Regions from separate parts of the Homo sapiens genome. Here region 2 is linked to region 1. The links are contacts of gene promoters, found by promoter capture Hi-C in blood cells and fetal thymus (Javierre and others, 2016). All regions are on one chromosome and are shown on one strand. The core of a region is centred on a gene start or on the middle of the fragment in contact, and the rest is flanking DNA. Distances in the headings are between cores, read along the strand shown. Region 1 holds the start of CMTM3 (CKLF like MARVEL transmembrane domain containing 3). Region 2 overlaps BEAN1 (brain expressed associated with NEDD4 1).

Region 1 (4,670 bases), core at 658-3,157:
TCAGCCTCCCAAAATGCTGGAATTATAGGCATGGGCCACTGCACCCAGACCCAAGGAGCCAATTTTCCTTAGTACTTCCCGTTCACTCAGTAGTGAGCACATGGGCTCAAGCCACTCCACAAGTCAGTCAATATTGCAAACCATATATAATAGTATACTTAATCCACATGTAAATGTTATAAACATTCCACAACAAACAAAGTAGCATTTAACATCAAGAGAAAAAGAGATAGGAGAAAGGGTTAAGGAACCAGTTCCAGGGTAAGGAAGAAGACAAAAGGAATCCTGGTCTGGGCTTGAGGGTCTTGCAGAGTCTTTGAGGGGCAGAGCCTTGGGAGGCAGATGCAGAGTTCTTATGAACGGCAGTGGGATGGTTGTCAGTTAAGGCTGCTGGGCTGCTGTTTTGTAGTCACAGAGTGCTCTGGTGAGAAATGGTAGAGGAACAGTGTGCTTCTTTGTGTCCTTATGTGGTTGGACGCAGTCTTTATTTATTTTTTTTTTTATTTTTTGAGACAGAGTCTTGCTCTGTCGCCCAGGCTGGGGTGCAGTGGTGTGATTTTGGCTCACTGCAACCTATGCCTCCCGGGTTCAAGCGATTCTTGTGCCTCAGCCTCCTGAGTAGCTGAGATTATAGGCACGGTGCCACCACGCCCAGCTAATTTTTGTATTTTTAGTAGACACGGGGTTTCACTATATTGGCCAGGCTGGTCTCGAACTCCTGACCTCGTGATCCACCCACCTCAGCCTCCCAACGTGCTGGGATTACAGGCATGAGCCACAGCGCCTGACCTTCTATTTTTTATTAAACAAAACATCTTGCCCTTGTTGGCAAAGCACCCTATGAAATATAAAATGAAGTCTTTTTCTAAGATGGAGTTAGTTATGTCAAGGGTGCGCAGTACTGTGCCATAAGCTCTCCCCCGGCTGCCCAGAGAGAAAACCTAAGGGCCTCTTAAAGACACCATCACAGCAGTTCAGCGGGGAGCAGGCAGGAATGGTTTCGGATCTAGTGGTGGTGAGAAGTAGACAGAGATCAGAGAAAGTTATAGGAGGTGAAAGTGGGAGGACCTTGGTTACAGACTGCCGGTGAAGAGGGACAAGGACAACCCGCAGGTCTCCGCTAGTCAGGTGGAAGGAAAGGAGGGGGCAGTGCCCTTCGCAGAGGCACAGGAAGCTGGGTCTTGATCACGCTGAACTCCAGACGCTCTCTAGATGTGCACGCATGTGCGTGTGGAGTGTGTGTGTGTGTGTGTGTGAGAGAGAGAGATGTGTTGGGGTGGGGGGACTGCAGGTCAGGAAGTCCTGCAGATGTGCGTGCCTGTGTGTGTTTGCGCGCGCGCGCGCGTGTGTGTGTGTCTGTGTGTGTGCCTGGAGCTGCGCTTGCAGGTCTGAGAGTCCTCTGAGAATGGGTTGGGGGAGGCGGGTGCAGGACCGAGGCCTGGAACAGCCAACAAAGAGGCCCTGGAGGAGGGTGGGGCTGGCCGGGGACAGGAGGGGTGGCCAAGAAAGTCGCAAGAAAACTCCGGCCCCCAAGAAAAAGAGAGGGCATGGGTTGCGGAGCCGACATCACGGCCGGGGTCTTTGCTGTTTAGACGCCTGGGTTCCCGGATCCCAGACACGCGCACGGGCAGGAAGTTAGACCGGAGACAGCGAGTATAGACAGCCCTTCTGGATAGGGGCAGACGGGTGGGAGCTCCGAAGGGGTGCCGGGGCGGTGATCGGGAGGTCTCCAGCGGCCCGAACCAGGGTGAAGAAGAAGGTGGAGTCTGCGGAGGCCCCAGGCCGGGGAGGGGGCGGGTCGGGCCCAGCATCCCCCGCAGCCGGGGTCCGAGGGGGAGGGGCGGGCTGGAGGAGCGGGTGGGGGCGGGGCGGGGCGTGGCGGCGGGGGATGCGCCCCTGCGCGAGCCAGTGTCGCCTGCCCTCCTTCCGCACAGCCCGGGTTTCCGCTTCCCTCCGGGCGCGAGAAGAGGGGAGCCAGGCCGAGCCCCGGCCCTACCGCCGCCGCCGCCATGTGGCCCCCAGACCCCGACCCCGACCCGGACCCCGAGCCTGCCGGCGGCTCCCGTCCCGGCCCCGCGGTCCCCGGGCTCCGCGCCCTGCTGCCGGCGCGGGCTTTCCTCTGCTCTCTCAAAGGCCGCCTCCTGCTGGCCGAGTCGGTGAGTGCGGCGGGACCCTCGGCCGCCCCGCTAGGACTGCGCGGCTCCTTTCGGAGGAGGACGTCGGGGCGCGGGTGGGGTCCGGGGGCGGCCGCCGTGCTCCGATACCCCCTCTCCGCGCCGCCTCGGCCGACTTCTCTCGGGCGCCTGGCGAAGTTGGGTCGAGGTCCCCAAACTTTGGACGGCGGGGCGGGGCCCGAGCCCAGGCCATCCGCGGCGCTGTCCCCGCGAGTCCAGAGCTGGGGGCCGTGGGAAGTGGGTGGGGCCCGGGGATGTGGGTCCTGCTGTGTGAGCCAGGCGCCCCCGCCCTCTCTGGGCCCCGGGGACTCGGGCAACTCGGACCTCCGGGACTCCCGGGCCGCAGCGGGGTCCGCTTTCCTGCGAGCGGGTAGTGCGGGCCGGGGCCTCGACCTGCGGGGCCGAGCCGGCGGGGGGCCGTGCGGAGCGGGAGGGATCCCCCACCCCCGGGACTGGGTGAGGCGGCCCCGCGGTGACTTCATCGCCCTCCTCCCCTCCGCGGCCGGGCTCCTTCCTACTCCGCCCTCGCCCCCACCCCGGCCGGTGGGGCTTCTTTGTCCTCTGGACACCGGAGGCGCCCGCACTGTCCGCTGTGGGGTAGGGGTGGCGCTGGGCCGTTGGGGATGGGGAGGGAGAGGCCGGGCCGGAGACCGGGGGAGGCGGGAGGAGAGAGCGGCGCACGGCGGCGGCCACTTGTTGCTTAGATCCCAGGAACTTGGCGCTTCCTGCCCTTGTCCCCACTTTACAGATGAGAGCGCTCAGGCGCCTGATTTGACAGGTGGCTCAACTGAGGGGCCCAGTGAGAGCGGCCAGGAGGGTGGGGGCAGGAGGAAGGGGGATTCTGCTCCGGGACCTCTCCCTGGTCACTCAGGGCAGAGGGCAGAAGGTGGTCCTGCAGCCTCTCCCACGGTCAGCCCAGAGGCCACCTGCCCAACGCCCAAGTGAGACACCAATGCCACACTCCGAGCCCACACTCCCAGCCCCACCCTGGAGACCACTGGGAGCCACTTGAGGGGAGAAGCCTCGAATCCACCGTCCCCAGAGTGGCTTGAACCCCCCCATCCCCACCCAAGACCACCTCATAAGAGGGAGGCATATGTCCAGCAGGAGCATAGAGGCCACCCTGGGCCCAGCAGATGTCAGGAATCCAGGTCAGGGAGGATAAGGAAGGGTGAACGGTCAGCACTCAGGGTTCACAGGAGCCGCTGAGGGCACTCCTGCCTCCCTAGTCCCCTCACTCCCACCCCCAGGCCAAGCAAGTGCAGAGGCTGAGATGGACAGAAACAGAGAGAGGAAGTGGCCCCAGAAATCGCGGGATGAAAAAACAGGAATTGAGAGGGGAATCCCCAGAATTAGGCTTTGGGGTGCAGGCATAGGAGACAGGAAGGGGAGGGCCAGAGCTGGGTCAGTCCCATGGAAGGCCTTCCTGGGAGGCCCCAGCAGCCTCCCAGCCCGTCTCTATGCCTTAGTCTATCTTTCCAAAGGGGGCTCAGCTGCACCCAAGGCCATGTGCAGAGCAAATGGGGGTGCTCTGGGGACCCCCTGGGATCCCTGCAGTTCATTTGTCTGAAGCAGCCACAGTGCTTCCTGTGGGGCATCTGGGTGTCCCCATGGGGACTCCTGCACCCACTAGAAACTACTCAGCCATAGACATGTTCAAACGCAGCCACAGTGACAGAAACCAGGGACAGATGGCCTCCCCAACACCCACAGGGCCAAGTTGCTTAAGAACTCTACCTGGGCCGGGCGTGGTGGCTCATGCCTGTAATCCCAACACTTTAGGAGGCCGAGGTGGGTGGATCACCTGAGGTCAGGAATTCGAGACCAGCCTGGCCAGCATGGTGAAACCCTGTCTCTACTAAAAATAAAAAAATTAGCTGGGTTTGGTGGCGGGCGCCTGTAATCCCAGCTACTCGGGAAGGCTGAGGCAGGAGAATCACTTGAACCCCGGAGGTGGAGGTTGCAGTGAACTGAGATCGTGCCACTGCACTCCAGCCTGGGAGACGGAGCAAGACTCCATCTCTGGGGCGGAGGTAAGATAACTCTATCTGGGGGGTCAGCCAGCCCTGGGTTCAAATTCTAGTAGCCTCTGATTAGCCATGTGACAGAGTCTTCTCATCTGTCAAGTGGGGCTGTGCTCATGGGTGGATGTGAGGGTCAGAGGAGATGCCCGTGAGCCTCAGGGTACCAGGCACTGTGGAGCCCCAGGCTGGCCAACAGGTCACCTTGGCCTGCTCTGCAGCGTACCTGGGCTGCAGGACTGCCCAGGGCTCAACATCCTCCTGCATCAGCTCTTCCCACCTACAGAGTTGTGGGCAAGACCACAGTGAACATTTTGATTCTTGTAGTTCAAGTACAGCTGGCCCCACCTTTCACAGCTGGCCCTGTATGAATAAGGCAGCAGGGCCTGAGGTGTCAGTGCCAACGCACCCTCTGTTAGATGTTCCTTTCTTATCATTATGAAAATTTGCAAATACATTAAAACTCCAAAAGATT
Region 2 (5,127 bases), core at 1,716-4,215, 150 kb before region 1:
CTCCAACCAAAGTTTTTTTATTTTAATATAGTCCAATGTATCCATTTTTAAATGGTTAGTATCTTCTGTGTCCTGTTTAAGAAATGCAAGGTCATGAAGATGTTCTCTGATGTTTTCCACTTCAAGCTTTACTCTTTTGTCTTTCACATTTAGTTCTGAGTCTAGGGAATGTCTTTAAATTTTGAATATTTGATTGTCATGTATTGGGCACCTATTATGAGCCAGGCATCCTGCTAGGCAGTTTGCTTTGATTAGCTCATAGCCGAAATTGCTGCTCCCATTTTACAGATGAGGCAATAGAGGCTTAGAGATCTGACTTGCTCAGTGGGCACTGCCAGCAAGAGGCAGTGCCAGGACTTGAACCCAGGATTGTCTGTGTCTTATTTAACCAGAGTTCTGTCCTAGTCCAAGAAGCAGGTCAGCTCCAGCAAAGGAACTCGGGACTTTGGCTGCCCAAGGAAGGTGGCTGAAGGATGATCCTTTTCCAGAGACCCTAGAGCTGCTTACCTTCTCAGGATACTAAACGTTGGTGAACACAAGGCCTGGGACTGGGACTGGTTTGATTCTCAAAATAGCTCAGGCCTGCAAAGCAATCTGATGGGGAGTGGGGGATAAAGAACTTCTCCCCAAATGCCCCATAATGTTTTTTGGAATCCACATGCCATGAACCTCATGCTGGGAAACTACTCCAAAGCTCCATGGTTTAGTGTGATGTTGGCAGTCAGTTGAGATCATCAGGATCTATCATGGCAAAGAGGTAACTGTCTTTTCCTATTCTACTGGTTTCTCTCGTCCTGCCTACTGAAGTAACATACTATGCTAATAGATTTCCTGATCTTAAATCATCCTTGCATTTCTGGAATAAGCCCTAGTATACTAATTTTAATACACTGCTACCCTGATGCTGGTTTTCCAAATGCCCTTGTAAATTCTGGGAAATGAAGGAATCTCTGAGGATCAGAGGACAAAATCCTATCACCTTTAATGTGCTCCAGAATCGAAAACCACAGGGCCATGCCTTTTGTAGGCCTCTGGCTTTGGGCCTGGGCAGCATGGTGAACAGTGAAGGAGCCATAATTGCTGTCCCACCAGAAAGGCCTAAAGGAGTTGGCAAAAGCATGCCCATCCAGTGTGACATTTACAGAGGTCAGGTGGCACCAGAATCCCTCATGGGTGTTTGGCGAAGGGATCTGTGGGGAGACCAGGAATCTGAGTGCGTTGTCAGGTGAGTGTTTATTGGGGAAATTTCTAGACGCTTTTTGCAGGACAGACATTCCAGAGTGTAGAGAAAAGGAGGATGGGGTTTAGAGATGGTTTGCTTCATAGCTGGGTTTCCCAATCCTCATGGCACCTCACGTGGCAGACTCACTTACCCCAATGCCCAACTGTACGGCCCCAGAGTAACGAAGGGACACACAGCTCCCCAGGATGGAGAGAGGATATCATATTATTCCCTGGTCTATGGAGTCAGAACCAGGTTCAAATCCTGTCTCCCTCCCCCCAACTAAAAATTGTCTTTGCGATCTTGGGCAAGTCACTTCACCTTCCTGAGCCTCAGTACCCTCATCTATTAAATCAGATTACTAGCACCTACCTCATAAAGCTGCTAAGATTTGTAAATTTTATCTTTTCAAAAAAACAACTTTTGGTTTCATTGATATTCTGTGTTGCTTTTCTGTTTTCTAGTTCGTTGATTTCTGCTCTCATCTTTATTATTTCCTTCCTCTACTTGCTTTGGGTTTTGTTTACTCTTTTTCTAGTTTCTTAACATGAAAGCTTAGGTTTTCAAGTCGAGGCCTTTCTTCTTTTCCTTTCTTCTTTTCTAATATAAGTATTTAAAGCTATGAATTTCCCACTAAGCATTGCTTTAGCTGAATTCCATAAATTTTGATACTATGTTGTGTTTTTTTTCATTCTGTTATACACACACACACACACACACACACACATTGTTTTGTTTTCTGAAGACAAAGGCTTCAAAAGGCTGGAGTGCAGTGGTGCAATCATAGCTCACTGTAACCTTGAACTCCTGGGCTCAAGCAGTCCTCCCACTTCAGCCTCCCAAGTAGCTGGGACTATAGGCATGCACCACCATACCCGGCTAACTTTTTATTATTTTTTTGTATATACAGGATCTCACTATGTTGCCCAAGCTGGTGTCAAACTCCTGGGCTAAGGCAATCCTCCCACCTTGACCTCCCAAAGTGTTGGGATTACAGGCATGAGCCACAGTGCCTAGCCTAAAATATATTTTTATTTTTATTGTGATTTCTTCTTTGACCTATAGATTATTTAGAAGCATGTAGTTTAATTTTTTTTTTTTGGGTCAGGGGGACAGAGTCTTGCTCTGTTGCCCAGGCTGGAGTGCAGTGGCACAATCTCAGCTCATTGCAACCTCTGTCTTCCAGGTTCAAATGATTCTCCTGCCTCAACCTCCCAAGTAGCTGGGATTACAAGCACATGCCACCACACCTGGCTAATTTTTGTATTTTTAGTAGAGACAGGGTTTTGCCATGTTGGCCAGGGTGGTCTCAAACTCCTGACCTCAAATGATCCTCCTGCCTCAGCCTCCCAAAGTGCTGGGATTCCAGGCGTGAGCCCACCACGCCCGGCCTAATTTCTAAGTAGTTGGGGTTTTCCCGGATAGTTTTCTATTTTGGATCTCTAATTCCATTGTGGTCAGAGAACATATTTTGTATGATTTAAATCTTTTTAAATCTATTGAGACTTGTTTTATGGCCCATATGTGGTCTATCCTGGAGAATGTCTCATGTGCACTTGAAAAGAATGCGTAATCTTCAGTTGGTGAAGGCTTCTATGAATGTCACACTGGTTGATAGCGTCATTCAAGTCTTCTGTATCCTGGCTGAGTTTCTAATTGCTTTGTCAGTTATTGAGATTGGGACATTAAAATCTCCACTATTATTGTTGAATTATCTATATCTTCTTTCAATTCTCCCAGTTTTTACTTCATGTTTTGGGGGACTTGTTAAGTGCATATATAATACATATATAGTTTTTATATCTTCCTAATATGTTGACTTTTTTGTCATTATGAAATGTCTTTGTCTCTAGAAATATATATCTTGCCTTAAAGTCTATTTTGCCTGATATCAGCATAACCACTCAAGCTGTTTGTATGCTATATCTCCTTCCATCCTTTTATTTTCAAACTATTTGTGTCTTTGAATCAGGTGTGTTTCTTGCAGTCAGCATACAGGTAGGTCTTGTCTTTTTATTTACTCTGACAATCTCTGCCCTTTAAGTGGAGTTATTAATCCATGCATACATCTTCCTTTTCTTTCTTTCTTTTTTTTTTTTTTTTTTTTGCTTTGGGTTTGGTTTTTTATTTTGTTATTTTTATTTTTTCCTGAATATGGATCATACTTTATAAGACAAAGAAACAAGAAAGTGTGATCCATTTGGATGGGCTCTTTCCAACAGTAGCAGGGAAGCTGCTGGTTTTCACAGACTGGGGAGCAGAGCTGGTGGGGAGGGGTATGGAGGCAGTCATAGGCAAGAACATTACAGGTTCACACTGTGCTTACCTGACATTCAGTCTTTTTCATACTAAGTGCTTCTCAGTTCGTTGTATGCCTTTGATCAATTTCCAGGAACTGCAATGGTACTTTGACAGTTTTGTCTAGCTTTATAGTTGCATGTATGGACTGCTAAATTATCTCCCTTAATCCTCACAGAAACACTCTGAGTGGTCATTACTCTTTTACAGATGAGGAAGCTAAGGTACGTAAGTATTAAATACCCTGGTCAGTGTCACTAAGCCAGGCTCTTAAACACTGCATTTACCACTTCTGGGTACATCCTCTCCCAGTAGCTTTTAGAGCAATGCAAGTAACACCCCCAAATCAGGATGATTATTCACAGCTACAACAGCAAGTAATGTAATGGTGACCTGCACATACCATAAGTTGGCTCATTCTCCCAAATCTGAATCACAGAGGGAATTTGTAAATTGGCTGTGTTGAATGATGCTAACTAGCACCAGAGAGCCAAAGAAGGAATGATTTCCTTTCCTTTTGAAGTTGAGCTACAGAGTGTCCCTGAGCTTCCTGGAGGCCAAAGCAAAACAGCAAAGTGGATCAGTTACATGATTCTCATGGTCTATGAGGAGAAAGTAGCTCTTTTGGAGAAAGAAAAGCTTTCCCTGGCCCTCATATCTTGGAGAAATTTATTACATGAGCCTTACCTAGGGATACTGAGAGGTATAGTGGACAATACCTGCAGCAACACGCTTATAATAAAGCTACTTTTTTTTTTTTTTTTGAAACAGAGTCTTATTCTATTGCCCAAGCTGAAGTGCAGTAGTGCAATCACAGTTTACCACAGCCTTGACCTCCCAAGTTCAAGTGATCCTCCCACCTCAGCCTCCCAATTAGCTGGGACTACAGGCACACGCCACCATGCCCAACTAATTTTGGTATTTTTTTAAGAGTCAGGATTTCACCATATTGCCCAGGGTGGTCTTGAGCTCCTGCGCTCAAGCAATCCGCCCACCTCAGGCTCCCGATGTGCCGGGATTACAGGTGTGAGCCACTGCTCCTGGCTGTGATAAAGCTACTTCTTAAGCTAGTCCCCTCAACACAGGCTCTGAGCATAAGGCAAAGCCCAACTCCAGGAAGCTCATTCTTGGGAAGGAGGCTCAGTCACTGTGGCCTAGGAACACAGCTCTAGGCTGGTTGAACTTGTTCCAAGGACTAAAACCTTTACTGTGCAGAGCAGCCTGTGGATGACATGGCCTTCACACAATCCTTTGTAAATATTCTCTCTCCCCTGGGTGGGATAGCTGATGAAAATTCGCAGCATTCATGAATTTAACATTTTACATGTCAATTATTCACTAGCTTCCTGGAAAGTCCATATTATAGTCAAAGGTCATTTTTCTGAGCCATGATTTTGAGTAGCAAAATGCAAGCTGGGGTGTGGGAGCAAATCCCCTAGCCGGTAGGTGGGCCCAGCCAGCCCCCCAGAATCTGCTTCTCAACCCAATTCCACTGTCTCCTACTTATCAGGCATGCACAGTAACTCCACTGGCATTATATTATATATATAAAAGCCTCTGGGCTCTTTGTGGAAAATGGCCCAAGAGCCAACTCTAGATGGTGATGG

What was found. Contacts are between HindIII fragments. The CHiCAGO score rates a contact against its expected background, and 5 or more counts as called.
Region 2: a contact is called between a fragment that was not itself captured here and the fragment with the promoter of CMTM3 in region 1, in 2 of 17 cell types (total B cells and total CD8 T cells). The highest score is 5.2, in total B cells.

Annotation. Positions count from the first base shown.
Region 1 is chr16:66,602,797-66,607,466 of GRCh38, forward strand. It overlaps CMTM3 (CKLF like MARVEL transmembrane domain containing 3), which reads left to right and starts at 1,908. Exons shown (of 5, transcript NM_181553.4): 1 at 1,908-2,156. The coding sequence starts at 2,010. It also overlaps a transcript of CMTM4 not described here. RefSeq lists silencers at 1,793-2,632, 2,693-2,912. The HindIII fragment of the contact is 16,414 bases long and covers 1-4,670 here.
Region 2 is chr16:66,451,421-66,456,547 of GRCh38, forward strand. The region is part of intron 2 of BEAN1 (brain expressed associated with NEDD4 1); the gene reads left to right. It also overlaps the pseudogene LOC107984807. Among named protein-coding and RNA genes, the nearest start is that of BEAN1-AS1, 22 kb to the right of the region's middle. The HindIII fragment of the contact is 2,383 bases long and covers 1,775-4,157 here.